2 separate regions of the Homo sapiens genome follow, and region 1 is linked to region 2. The links are contacts of gene promoters, found by promoter capture Hi-C in human tissues and cell types (Jung and others, 2019). All regions are on one chromosome and are shown on one strand. Each heading gives the region's core, a stretch centred on a gene start or on the middle of the fragment in contact. The rest is flanking DNA. Distances are from core to core; before and after follow the strand shown.

Region 1 (6,973 bases), core at 1,751-4,250, 89 kb before region 2:
TGAAGCAAGGGTCTGAGCTGTACCTTAGCTCCTTTTAGCCATGACTGGAGCTGGAGCAGCTGAGACAAAAGGAGCCATGTTCTGAGGTTGCACAGAGCAGCAGGGCCCCAGGAACAGCCCATGAAACTATTTTTCCCTCCTACACCTCCAGGTCTGTGATGGGAGGGCCTGCTGTGAAGGTCTCTGAAATGCCCTAGAGGCATTTTCCCCATTGTCCTGGCTATTAATATTTGGCTCCTCCTCTTTACTTATGCAAATTTATGTAGCTGGCTTGAATTTCTCCACAGAAAATGGGATTTTCTTTTCTACCGCATAGTCAGGCTGCACGTTTTCCAAACTTTTATGCTCTGCTTCACTTTTAAATATAAGTTCCAATTTAAGAGCATCTCTTTGTGAATGCATATAAGCATATGTTGTTAGAAGCAGCCAGGTCACATTATTGAACTCTTTGCTGCTTAGAAATTTTTTCTGCTAGATACCCTAAATCGTCTCTCTCAAGTTCAAAGTTCCACAGATCCCTAGAGCAGTGGCACAATGCTGCCCATCTCTTTGCTAAAGCATAGCATGAACGACCTTTACTTTATTTCCCAGGAAGTTTCTCATTTCCATCTGAGACCTCATCAGCCTGGACTTCAATATCCATATCACTATTAGCATTTTGGTCAAAACCATTCAACAAATCTCTAGGAAGTTCCAAACTTTCCCTCATCTTCCTGTCTTCTTCTCAGCCCTCCGAACTGTTCCAATCTCTGTCTGTTACCCAGTTCCAAAGTCATTTCCATATTTTCAGGTATCTTTATAGCAATGCCCCACTACTCAATATCAGTTTTCTATATTAGTCCATTATCACACTGCTATAAAGACATACCAGAGCTTGGGTAATTTATGAAGAAAATAAGTTTAATTGACCCATGATCCACAAGTTGTACAGGAAGCATGGCTGGAGAAGCCTTAAGAAACTTACAATCATAGCAAAAGGTGAAAGGGAAGCAAGCATGTCTTACATGGTGGGCAGGAAAGAGAGAGAGAGAGAAGGGGGAAGTCCCACACACTTTTCAAACAACCAGATCTCATGAGAACTCTATCACAAGAACAGCAAGGGGTAAGTTCACCCCCACAATTAAATCACCTCCCACTCGGCCCCTCCTTCAACACTGACAACCACAGCTTGACATGAGATTTGGGTGGGGACACAAAGCCAAACCATATCAACACTCTCTTGACTATTCCTGAATACTAGGATTCACATGCATAGAGTTAAACTTCTTGAGTTGGGTCAAAGAGTAAGTAAGAATCTATGAGAAGAATGGTTCCCAGAGCTTACATATACAGAGGAAGGGTTCCACCTTCAAACAGAGTAGAGAATTCTCACTGATCACTTTTTACATTCAGTAAAGATCCCCAAAAACTTATTAATGAAGCTACAACTTATTTGAAATTAAATGATTCTTAAAATAAAGGCTATGCTAGATCCACCTTAATAAGCTTAAAAACAAAGCTGAAAAAGATAACACTGAATCACAAGAAACCTAACTCCCTATCAGAAGAAAACCTTACTCATTAAAGTAAAGAAAAACAACAAAATCCAGATATTGGACAACACATAAATCATATTATCCAGTAAAAATGTCTTAGACATTGCAAGCAGGAAAATGTGATCCATAACCAAGAGAAAAATCAGTTAACAGAAACAGACCATAAATGACAAAAATGATATAATTAGCAGAAAAGAACATTAAAACCACTATTTTAACTATGTTCGGATATTTAAAGGAAAACATAAAATAGTGAAAGAGGAATGTAAAATATTTTTTAAATCAAATAAAAATTTTAGAAATAAAAACAATATCTGAAATAGAAAATTCATTGGATAAGATTAACAGCAGATTAGACACTTCATAAGAAAATATTAGTGAGCTAGAAGATGGAACAATAGAAACTCTTCACAGTGAATCTTACAGAGAGTAAATATTGAAAAGAAATAAAGTCTCGGTAACATGTGGGACAATATTAAGTGGTCTAATATTTAAGTAATTGGAGTCCTATAAAGAGAAGAAACGGTAAATTTTTTTTCAAGAAATATGGCCAAAATATTTACAAATGCAATAAATCTCAGATCCAAATACTTCAATGAAACCCAGAAAGACAAGCACAAACAATACAAGACAAAGACATGTGGTACTCAAATTGCTGAACACTAAAGATGATCTGAAAAATCTTTAAAATATGTATACATACTATATGCAAAGAAACAAAGATCAGAGTGATAGTAACCTTTTTGTTAGAATCTAGGCAAGTGAGAAGAGAAAATAGCATTTTTAAACTCTGAAAAACTTTTGATAACCTAAAATTCTAAGCCCAGCAAAAACATCTGTCACATATGGAGATAAAGTAAATATATTTCAGTCAAAGCACAGCTGGTAAGACTTACCACCATTACATCTTCATTATAAGAATTGATATAGAAGTTCTTTGAGAGGAAGAACACTAATACAATAAATAAATTTGGATATAAATTAAGAAATAAAGAGAACTGAAAATATTAAACATGTAAGGCAATAAAATACTTATACTCTATTTTTTTATTTTGTTAAAAAACAGCTGTCTGTTTAATGCCAAGGTAATATCAATGTGTTGTGGATTTTACAACAAACAAAAATAAATTCTATGACAATAACAAAGAACAGTAGGAAAGAATTTGCAGATTATTATTGCACATTTTACATTAAGCACTGAAAGTATAAATAAAAGTTAAAACAGGAATAAATAGTAAGATAAAACTAAAGACAAATTTAAATAAAAAAATTAATTAAAAGAAGATAGGACATGAGAAAAAGAAAAGAGCAACAATGAATACATGGCATGAATGTAAAACAAATCATAAGATAATAGACCTAACAACTATCAAATTAATAATTGCATTAAATGTAGGTGGTCTAAACACTGCATTTAAAAGGCAGAGATTTTCAGAATGAATAAGAAAGTAAGAAAAAACTATGTATGTACATATACATGTATATATTTTTTCCTATGGCACTAAGTTTTGTTAAAGATTTCATTCAAGTTAAATTTCTAGGAATTAAGGAGTCCTAGGTAGAGGGCACAAAAGCTTATGAAGCCCTTAGATCTCATAGTGAAACACTAGCTCAGGTTCTTTGGTGGATCACTGTCTTGTCCCAAGTACAGATTATTAAAAGGATACTGCTTTGGCCCCACAGGCTGGTAGGTAGAATAATTCTCCACTACATAGAACATAAAGTTCATGAAGGTCAGGAAGCTGAAGAGATTATTGAACATGATATTCCAAGAAACAGGGGTGGAGGGCCATATCCACATGGTTCCTGATATACTTGTCCAGATGCCAGTGTATCAGTTCACCCCAGTTCAACCTCAAGTCTTGGTGGTCCCAGTCAAACCACAGATCCCTCTCCTACTGTGAATGGTCAAAGAACTTTGAGTAGTTACCATACTCCATGCCATCATCCAAGTAAGGCTGATAGTCTTCCACACACATATTATACTTCTTGGCAGCGGTGGCCCATTCTTCTGGGGTCTTGGAATAGAACCCCAGGGGCATGTCCTTGATCATGTGGAAGGATGGCCATGCACTCAATGACACCACATTCTGGGTTGCCCTTTGTAGCCACTAGATTCCCAGGACCCCTGCCCTGGCTACTTCCAACTTCACCCAAAATTATATTAGGTCTAAAAGTAACCTAGGTCAAATAAAAAAACACAGGGCTAGTCACGGTGGCTCACGTCCGTAATCCCAGCACTTTGGGAGGCCAAGGCAGGCATATCACCTGAGGTCAGGAGTTTGAGACCAATCTGGCCAACATGGTGAAACCACATCTCTACTAAAAATACAAAAATTAGCCAGGCATGGTGGTGTATGCTTGTAATCCCAGCTACTCGGGAGGCTCAGTCAGGAGAATCACTTGAACCCAGGAGTCAGAGGTTGCAGTGAGCCAAGATCGTGCCATTATACTCCAGCCTGGGCAACAAGAGTGAGAATCTGTCCAAAAAAAAAAAAGGCAGGTAAATTAAAATAAAAGGATAAAAAAATACATCATGAAACATTAGTCAAAGATGTCCAGAATGACTATATTATAATCAAACAAAGCAGACTTTAAAATAAGGAATATTACCAGAAACAAGAAGAGACATTTCATAGTGATAAAAGGGTCAATTTATCAAGAATAAAAATCTTAATTTTAGTGAATACATCTAATAAAAGTTTCAAATACAGGATGCAAAACCTATATTTGAAACTAAAAATAAAAGAAATTGACAAATCAACAAATATAGCTGGAAACACTAGCATTACTCTCACAATAATTGATAACAAAAATAGATATATCAGTAAAGATATAGATGACTTTTAAAAGGCTATTAACCAAACCTGTCCTAATTGACATTTATAGAACTACACACAACAGCAGAATATGTATTCTTTTCCATTGTTCATAAAACATTCACCAGGACAAACCATATTTTGAGATAGAAATCTGTTTCAATGAATTCACAAGCATTGAAATCATATGGAGTTGTTCTTTCAACAAGATGGAATGAAATTAGAAATTGATAACAAAGACATCTGCATAATGCCAACTTTGGAAACTGAACAGCATATGTAAATTAAACAATACATTTCTAAGCAATTAATGGGTCAAGTAAAAAATCATAAAGGCAGTTAGAAAACATTTTAACTGCATAAAAATGAAAACAAAATATGAAGACTTTAAAGCTGCAGCTAAAGTAGTAATAATAAGAAAATTTATATTATTAAATGTATACCTTAAAAGAAGAAAAATGTGAGATAGTTTATCTAAGCTTCTACCTTAGTAAGCTAGAGAAATAAAAGCAAACTAAACCCAAAATAACAAGAAAGAAGAAAATAATAAAAATAAGACAGAATTCAATGAGAAAAAATAGACAAACTATAGGGAAAATTGATTAAAACAAAGCTGTTCTTTGAAAAGAGTATTGAAGTTGACATATCTAGACTGATCAAGAACAAAGACAAAAGGTACAGATTATCAAGAAAATGAGCGGGCAAAGCAAGATGGCCAAACAGAAGCCTGCAACAATTATCCCCCCACCAAAGGAACACTAAATTTTAACAACTAACTACACACAAAAAAGCACTATCACAAAAAACAAAAATCAGGTGAGCAATCACAGTACCTGATTTTAACTTCATATTGCTGAAAGAGACATTGAAGAGGGTAGGAAAGACAGTCTTGAATTGCCTATGCCACTTCTCCTCCACTCCCTGGCAGTGGCCACATGGCATAGAGAAACAATCTGTGCACTTGAGGCAGGGCAAGCACAGTGACTAGGGGTCTTGGCATTGAACTCAGTGCTGCCCTGTCACAGCAGGGAGCAAAACCTTGCTTGGTTCAGCTGGCACCCACTCACAGAAGGAGCATGTGGACCAGCCCCAGCCAGAGGGAAATTGCCCATCCCAGTGGTTGGAACTTGAGTTTCAGCAAAACTTGCCACTGCAGGCTAAAGTGCTCTTGGGTTCTAGGTAAACTTGAAATGCAGTCTAGGACACAAGTACCGCAATTTCTAGGCGAGGCCTAGTGCTAAGGCTGGACTTACAGCCAGTAGACTAAGGCAGCACGTGACCTAGGAAGACACCAGCTGGGGCAGCTAAGGGTGTTGCTTGTGCCACCACTTGTGAAACCCAAGCTTGTGAAACCCAAGCAGTGCAGCTTGTAGCAATGATAGTAACTCCTTCCTTCTGCTTGAGGAGAGGAGAGTGAAGAGTAAAGTGGTATTTGTCTTGTGTCTTTGATACTAGCTCATCCACAATAGGATAGTGCACCAGGCAGAGTTGTCAGGCCCCTATTCCAGGCCCTAGTTCACAGACATTTCTAGACACAACCTGGGCCAGCAGGAAACTCACTGCCTTAAAGGGAAGAACTAATCCTGACAGAATTAATCACCTGCTGACTAAACAGGCTTTGGGCCCTGAGTAACGAATAAGAATACCCAAGTAGTACACCATGGGCCTTGGTTGAGACTCTGAGACATGCTGGCTACAGGTGTGACCCAGTATATTCCCAGCTGTGGTGGCTAGGGTGAAAGATCTTCTGCTTGAGAAAAGCAGAGTGCAAGTAAAGGAGACTTTGTCTTGAACTTTAGATAACAGCTCAGCCACAGTGGGGTAGAGCATGAAGCAGGCTCTTGGGGTTCCTGAGTCCAGGCCTAGACTCTTAGACAGAATTTCTGGACCTGCTCTGGGCCAGAAGGGAAGGACATAAGCCTGGCTGGCTTCCTCACTTGCTGACTGTAGGGCCCAAAGAAGGCCTTCAGTGAACATAGGCCATAGCCAGGTAGTGATTACAGCAGGCATTGGGCACGACTCAGTGCTATGCTGGCTTTAGGTCTGACTCAGCACAGCCCCAGTGGTGGTGGTCACAAAGGTCACAAAGGTTCACCCCAGCCCCAGTTGGCTTAGCACAGAGAGAGAGAGACTCCATTTCTTTGAGGGAAAGTAAGGGAAGAGAACAAGAGTCTCTGCCTGATAATCCAGAGAATTCTTCCAGCTCTTATCCAAAACCACCAAGGCGGTACCTGTACAAGTCTACAAGAACCACAGCAATTTGGGGCTTGGGGACCAAGTCTCTCTGAATAGCTGGAAAGCCTTCCCAAGAAAGATGGGCACAAATAAGCCCAGACTGTAAAGACTACAATGAATGCTTAACTCTTCAATGCACAGAAACTGATAAACATCCACAAGCATCAAGACTATACAGGAAAATAAGACCTTACCAAATGAACTAAATAAGGCACCAAAGAGCAATTCTGGAGAAAGAGAGCTATGTGACCTTTCAGAAAGAGTATTCAAAATAGCTGTTTTGAGGAAACTCAAAGAAATTCAAGATAACACGGATAAGAAATTCAAAATTCTAGCAAATAAATTTAACAAAGAGATTGAAATTGAATAATGAAAAAGAAATCA
Region 2 (6,602 bases), core at 1-2,500:
CCCTGTTACCAAGGTGAGTGCAGATAACCAGCAGAGACACCTGTGAACTTGAACCCAGAAGCATACACTCTCCATCTTAAAAACACACACTCCCACCATCCTGGGAGCATGGTAAATCAGCAAAGATGGACGGTGAAAATGTCGCTTTCTCACCTCAGCCTGATATTTACCAACAAGAAGTTAATTTCCCACTGTTCCCAGATCAGTCCACATTGGGGCTAACACTTCTCCACAATGTCCAAGCAAAATCAAAAGAATCCCTGTCTCAGAAGGCATTTGTTGCTGCTGAGTCACAACTGCCTGTCTGATCATAGTCTCCCAAAATGGAGTAAACAAAGGGTTAGTTTGTCCCCTTGTTACACAGTGAAGCCCTTTGCCAAAACTGATTGTTGTATTTTCTGGACAAAATGGAGTAAACAAAGGGTTAGTTTGTAAACAAAGGGTTAGCTTGTCCCCTTGTTATACAGTGAAGCCCTTTGCCAAAATTGATTTTTGTTTTTTCTGAATTTTTGTTTTTGTAGATATTCAGCTCTCCCCAATACCTCTGCCTGCCTTGGCTGCCTGGCCACTTTTTCCAGTGTGATTGTGTATGTTCTTGCCTATTTCTAGCCATTTTCCAGTCCTGGAACATATTAAAAACAAATTGGCCTTTCCATGTAGCTCATAAGTCAGAAAAATTACCAGCAGAAGACATCTCTAGAAAGCGAGACCGTGTACTCTGAGCCCTAACAGCTACTTAGCCAACCACTTCTTCTCTGAGCTATATCAGAGCCACCTATCTCTAGCTGCCTATTTGTTCCAGAAGAATTCAACCCAGGGGAATGGTTTTGCCACCCAGGCATAGGGAAACGAGGGGGCTTTTAAATTCACAGAGATTAGAAGTCCAGACAATGCAGGAAATTCACAGATAATATCCAAAGTAGCCAACCTGCCCTCCAAAATAAAATTCTGATTTGACCCAGTGAGGTAAGCCCAGGTAAGGTGAGCTTCACTTCCTGCCAGCCGTCTCCAAGAGTCTGTTCTAGTTTCATCTGTCCAGTTTAAAGCAGGCTTCTCTTTCCACTCAAGTGTTTGGATTCCAGATTCAAAAGAAGTTTTAAAAATCAGGACTTACCTCATTTACCTAAAGATTCTGGGTGGGAAATCCAATAGCTGTGGCTGTTGGAGGGGAGGCAGCAGGCTGCAATCTCACCAGCTCCTATAGGGATGGGGCACCACGGGTGTTATCAAGTCTGAGCCCTCATCAGAGTGAAGATAAATGCATATAACAATAATTTTAAATCATTTTGTAGGATGTTAAGCAATAAGCCACCAACCGGGAATTCCCTAAGTCACTTCCCCCTCTTCTGATTGGCTACCCAGCCCTTTAAAAAAATAAAATAAAGGATTACAAACACTGGCTCATTTGCATTTGGCCAACTCACACGTTAGTGTTCAAACAAAACAGGTCTAACCAGGTAATGCCTGTGTCTCAAGAACAGAGAGACAACCTGTTAATGGATGAGGAATTGATTTGGTGGTGACTGTTCTTTTCAGCTCAGAGGCTGTTTCAGGTGAAAAGCACCCTGCTCACCAAAGACACCATCGGGAAGAGGGAATGTAAAAGCAAAGTGAGTAGAAGTCCAAATCTGGAGGAGATGATGGTATGGAGGGGCCCTCTTGAGCACCTGTCTCATTTATTAGTCTGTATTTAGTCCACCCTGCTTTGGCATCAAGATCTTTTCCCTAGCTCTATAAGTACCAGGCTCTGAAGGGGCTCCCAGCAAGTTCCCTCTCCAGGCACCATGACTGCCTTCTTGACAGAGACTCTTGGCAATTCAATGGACTTTGAAAAGCCTATCTCCCCTGGCCCCAGGTAAGAGCCTTGAGAGGTTTGAAAGGGAAGGTCCTGGGAGGGAGGGTACCTTATGAGGAGATGCTTAGGTCAAGCAGTCAACTCTCAAATATGCAAGAGCTGATTATCCGGTTGGTGGATTATCTAGGTTCTTCACTTCCTCTTGACACTTACATGATCTTTTTTAAAAGGTTTATTGACACTCCCTATAAGAGTTAGAGATGAGAAGACCAAAATGCTGAAACTGGAAATAAAAAAGCACAGTTTGGACAAGAAGAAGGTGGAATATTAGGGAGGATCTACGGATTCAAATACCCAGGCAACCTCTATTCCCTTGGGCCAAGGGACATATGGGGAGTTACCTGTACCTGCTTCACTGGGTCACAAATGTACCTTCTCCCATACGGGTGAATGACTGCTCCTAGCAAAGAAAAATACCATCCCCCAACCATTAACTTTCTCTGTTGAACCTTCCAGGACACTGGCCTGGCATGAGCAAAGTGTCTAAGCAGATTTCTTTGACTCAACGGGCCTCCCTTTTGTGGGAGAGGGAAGGGAAGTTGAGATTTGGCAGAGATAAAGATTTTGTGATCAAAACCAAGAAGTTACTTGTGTTAAAAAGAAAAAAAAAGGTCTGCTTATGGTCAAAGGCTGACTGAATAGAATAAAAACTGGTTATTATATTAAGGGGGAACAGTGAGTGTGCAGTAGTATTAGTCTTTTCTTACTTATTTTTTCTAGTTTCTACACAAATTCAGAGGTTTCTGAAAGTGTAAAAGACTCAGTGGGAAAACAAGGGTGGACTTGGGAAGGTCTTGGAAGCTGGGCAGGTCTTGAAGAAGGGCTTGAGGCTTTGGTCAGTGCAGTTTAGGGGAGTTCTAATAAATCCCTCTGCCTCCCTAACCTGCCCCAGACATTCCCACCCTTCCCAACTGTTCAACCCTGTGAACTTGCCAAGGGCCCTGTGAAAATGCAAATGTAAACCCCGCCCCATATACACACTGATAAAAACAACAAATTTCATTATTTCCCATTATCACATTAGCCCCAATTAGTCTATCAGTTCCAGATCTGAGAGCAGGGCCCTGAGGGAATGGCCTGCTGGAGTTTTGCTTGAGAGACAAATCAGGCACAACCTGAAGTAACTACATTCCACCCACTGCAGGGCATTTGTGTGTAGTGATGGTGAAGGGGGGTGGGTGGCGGGGCACTCATGAGAAAAGGGAAGCATTATTGCTAGAGCCCGTGGGACTCCAGGGAAACAAACTTGGCCTTCTTTACACCATTGCCTGAGATTAACCTGAGACAGCAGGGTGGGAGTAGAAGGGCTAGGGTTGTGTGGTCAAGAGATAGTGAACTTCAAATGCAACCACAAAAGTGATGTGGCTCTCTGACCCAGTCCCAATCACCTTTAATTATAGGCCCTGTAATTTATAGCTGAAGAATTCTGGTTAAATCTCCATTTCTTTATCCACTTGTATTTAGTCCATTTTAGATTGGAGGGCTATTGAGACGAGTCATATTGGGGTAGTGATGGTGGGAGGGGAGGGAAAGATGTCACCTCATACTCACAAGCCACTTTATTTGTGGAGGTTTTTTTGTAAATAAAGTACCTAAAAGTGTGCCTGCTACTTGCTGGGTACTTATTAAGTATTGATTCTTCTTTTTACTTGGGTCTTAGTTGAACCTTCCAGAAGAAAAACAAAAATGAAAACAATACCCCTCACCCCCAACCTAAAAAAAAAAACACAAAAAAGCTAGAATTGCAGGTATATTGCATCCATACGGAAAGTCCTTTGGAGTTTGAGGTCTTTCACCCTACTGCCAACTTCAACAAGACAGTACTGGCGATAGATAGATAGATGATAGATAGATAGATAGATAGATAGATAGATAGATAGATAGATAGATAGATGATAGATAGATAATGATGGGATGAGATGGATGTCTCAAGGCCTTCTACTACAAGTCTCAGATATATCAAGTATGTCCTTTATGGATAAGAAGTTTAAAGTGTAATCACAAAATCATCAAACACAGCAGATCCTTAATATGGACACATTGTAAGTTCTCAAGGAGGACTCTGGCAAGAGAGACCTCCAGCACTTGTTCTGTGCTCCTGAATTCTCTGGGGGGCTGATAAAGACATAGCAAAATGAACAGAGTGATAAACAAAGCTGATTGTCTTTATTCTGTGGATGGGAAGAATCAAGAGAGAGAGGCCAAGCAGCTTGCCCTCAAATCAACTGAAACAAACTCTAGAAACCCAATTACTCTGCATAGAAATCTTCCTGGTTGTCCCTACAGGTCAAGGCCCTATCACCCTCTCCAACCTGTGCACAGACACAGAGCCCTTGAGTTGAGTCCTGTGCTGGTCCCCACAGAGGAAAAGGGGAACAGAGCAAAGCAAACCAGGTTGTGTGTGGTGGCCTGGAGACCCGGAGGTCAGTCGGGTTGTCTCCTAGAAGATCCATACTGTAAAACCAAAAACCCTAGGGATCTTAATTCCCAAATCAAGGCCAGGACAAAGAATCTCTTTAAGCCAAGTATCAAGCATTAAGGAATCTGAGTCTTAACACCAACACAGGCTGTGGCTACAAGATTAATGGAAGCTGTGTGCTTGCTTTGCAAGAAAGAGGATGCTCACACACTTTACACAATACCTTTTAACTAGAGGGCCTATATTTATTTTTGAAAGCAAGTGTGTGTTTGTATATATTTCTGTCTATCATCTCCTCCTAATGACGTGGTGTTACCTCCAGGGCAGAACACGGCATCTATTTAGTGAAAGCCGTACAAGAATATTAATGTAAGACCAATGGGAAGAAGAAACTCCTTCTGGTCTTGTGAAACTTATGGGGAGGGGGAATTAAATCGAGCAGAATATGATCATTTATTATACTGGTTACAGTCAAATAAGCAACAGAATTAATAAGTATCATTTTGCTTCTTAATGCTACTCCCCTCTAAAGGTCACATTTCCCAAATCTTTTGGTTTTGGATTAGATGAGGTTCCTGGGGATCTTCATTATCCTCTAAGGACAAGCTTTACGGTCTCTGAAGGGGGCACCTGAGTTCTGTTTGGGAGGTCACACGTTGACAGTTGTTCTAACAGGTTGATGTGACACACACCAGCAATGCCTCCTGACATTATGTCTGTGTGCCTGCATTCTGAGCAAATCCTGGCCCAATGGCATGTGCCACTGGCGTGCCAAGGTGGGGGCCACTTTGGTGCTGGAGGAGGGGAGAGTGGCTCACTCTTCCTGAGAAGAATGACCCACTGTGTACACACACACGTGCATGCCCACACACATACACACACAAAACTCAGGCATCTGAACATGTTGCTAAACTTACCCAAGCACCAAGGATGAATTTTCTGGACTCCTCCTCCATATTTTAATTAATATCAAGACGCCTCTATTCTTGCCTAAACTAATTTGCCCCTGCCCTGTTCCTTTGGTCTCGCCTGTATTTTATCAATCTCTTTCTGGCCTTATCTTTCCCCACAAATAGCTTTACACTGTTCCCTGACTTCAAGCCAACCTCACTGCTACGATAAGCATTTTGGTTCTTGAATCCAACTGTCTTAGTTTCTTCACAGTATTTCCATCAGGGTCTTCAAGAAGGCTCATTTCTCAGTCTCAGAAAGGGAGGGAAAATCATGAAAAAGGTGGCCATTTTCAGGCAACCTTCCTGTGGCCAGAATTTCTTCTTTTTTGTATGAGGAAGATTTCTTTATAAGTATAGCACTTAGGATTTTTTTTTGTTTTTCCAGGTATTATTCTTTTTATATTGACAAATAAAATTTGTATATATTTATGGAATAAAACATGACATTCTGACATGTCATATATATGTGTGTGTGTATATATACATAAACATATATATATATATATATACACACACACACACACACACATTGTGGAGTGGCTAAATTGAGCTAATTAACATGGGCATTACCTCACATACTTGCCATTTTTGTGTGTGGTGAAAACACAATCTACTCTCTTAGCAATTTGCAAATACATGATACATTGTTATTGACTATATTCACCATGCTGTACAATTAGATAGCAATTGTTTTAACATAAGAACTCTTTGTTTACTACCATGGAATCCCAAAAGTAAAAGAGATTAAAGAAATGCAGCCATATATGGACCGGAGGTAGGGCAGCTACAGCCCCACCCCCTTGTTTTCCCTTCCCTACCCTCATAGGCATCCAGCCTTCTCTGCTATATAGTTCTCCCTGCTGTGTCCTTTCTAAGCTAATGAAGCATCCAAATTACCTTTACAAATTCAGACTCCTGAGTTCCTCCACACATCTACCAAATCAGCAAACACCTCCAAGGGTGAGGTGATAGTGGAGAAAACCATCCATTTTGCATTCCTCATTTTCCATTCATATTTAGTAGGCTCCCACATTGTTCCACAGATGATCAACCAGAGAACTCACTCAAGAAGATATTTTGGTAGAGCCAACCTTGGGTAAAGGTCTCAGGGCCTGGCCTCTTTCACCCAGGAACCATGAGAGACAGCAAACTCAGGTCCAAGTAGAAAATGTATAAAATCTCCATCCAGATGCCTAATTATTTGGGATAACGTGTGGCATCTCAGAGCCTATTCCAACAGACTTACAAAAGCAAGGTGGCTCTGCTCCTCAGAAGCAGCCTGATGCGGTGAAAGGACATTGTTTTTAAAGCCAGACAGCCTAGGAAAACTTTGCCATATTTGCTCAAACTTTAGGTCTCAGTTTCCCTATCTGTT

Evidence for each region. Contacts are between HindIII fragments. The study calls those that stand out against the background at their distance.
Region 1: a fragment that was not itself captured here is called in contact with the fragment with the promoter of EHF in region 2 in 4 of the 25 tissues and cell types used here (adrenal gland, lymphoblastoid cells, mesenchymal stem cells and 1 more).

The regions. Positions count from the first base shown.
Region 1 is chr11:34,706,313-34,713,285 of GRCh38, reverse strand. All of the region lies in intron 1 of LOC102723568 (a long non-coding RNA gene), which reads right to left. It also overlaps the pseudogene NDUFB8P3. Among named protein-coding and RNA genes, the nearest start is that of EHF, 89 kb to the right of the region's middle. The HindIII fragment of the contact is 4,531 bases long and covers 735-5,265 here.
Region 2 is chr11:34,615,741-34,622,342 of GRCh38, reverse strand. It overlaps EHF (ETS homologous factor), which reads right to left and starts at 1,250. Exons shown (of 9, transcript NM_012153.6): 1 at 1,115-1,250. RefSeq lists a cis regulatory region at 2,950-3,349. The HindIII fragment of the contact is 9,385 bases long and covers 1-6,184 here.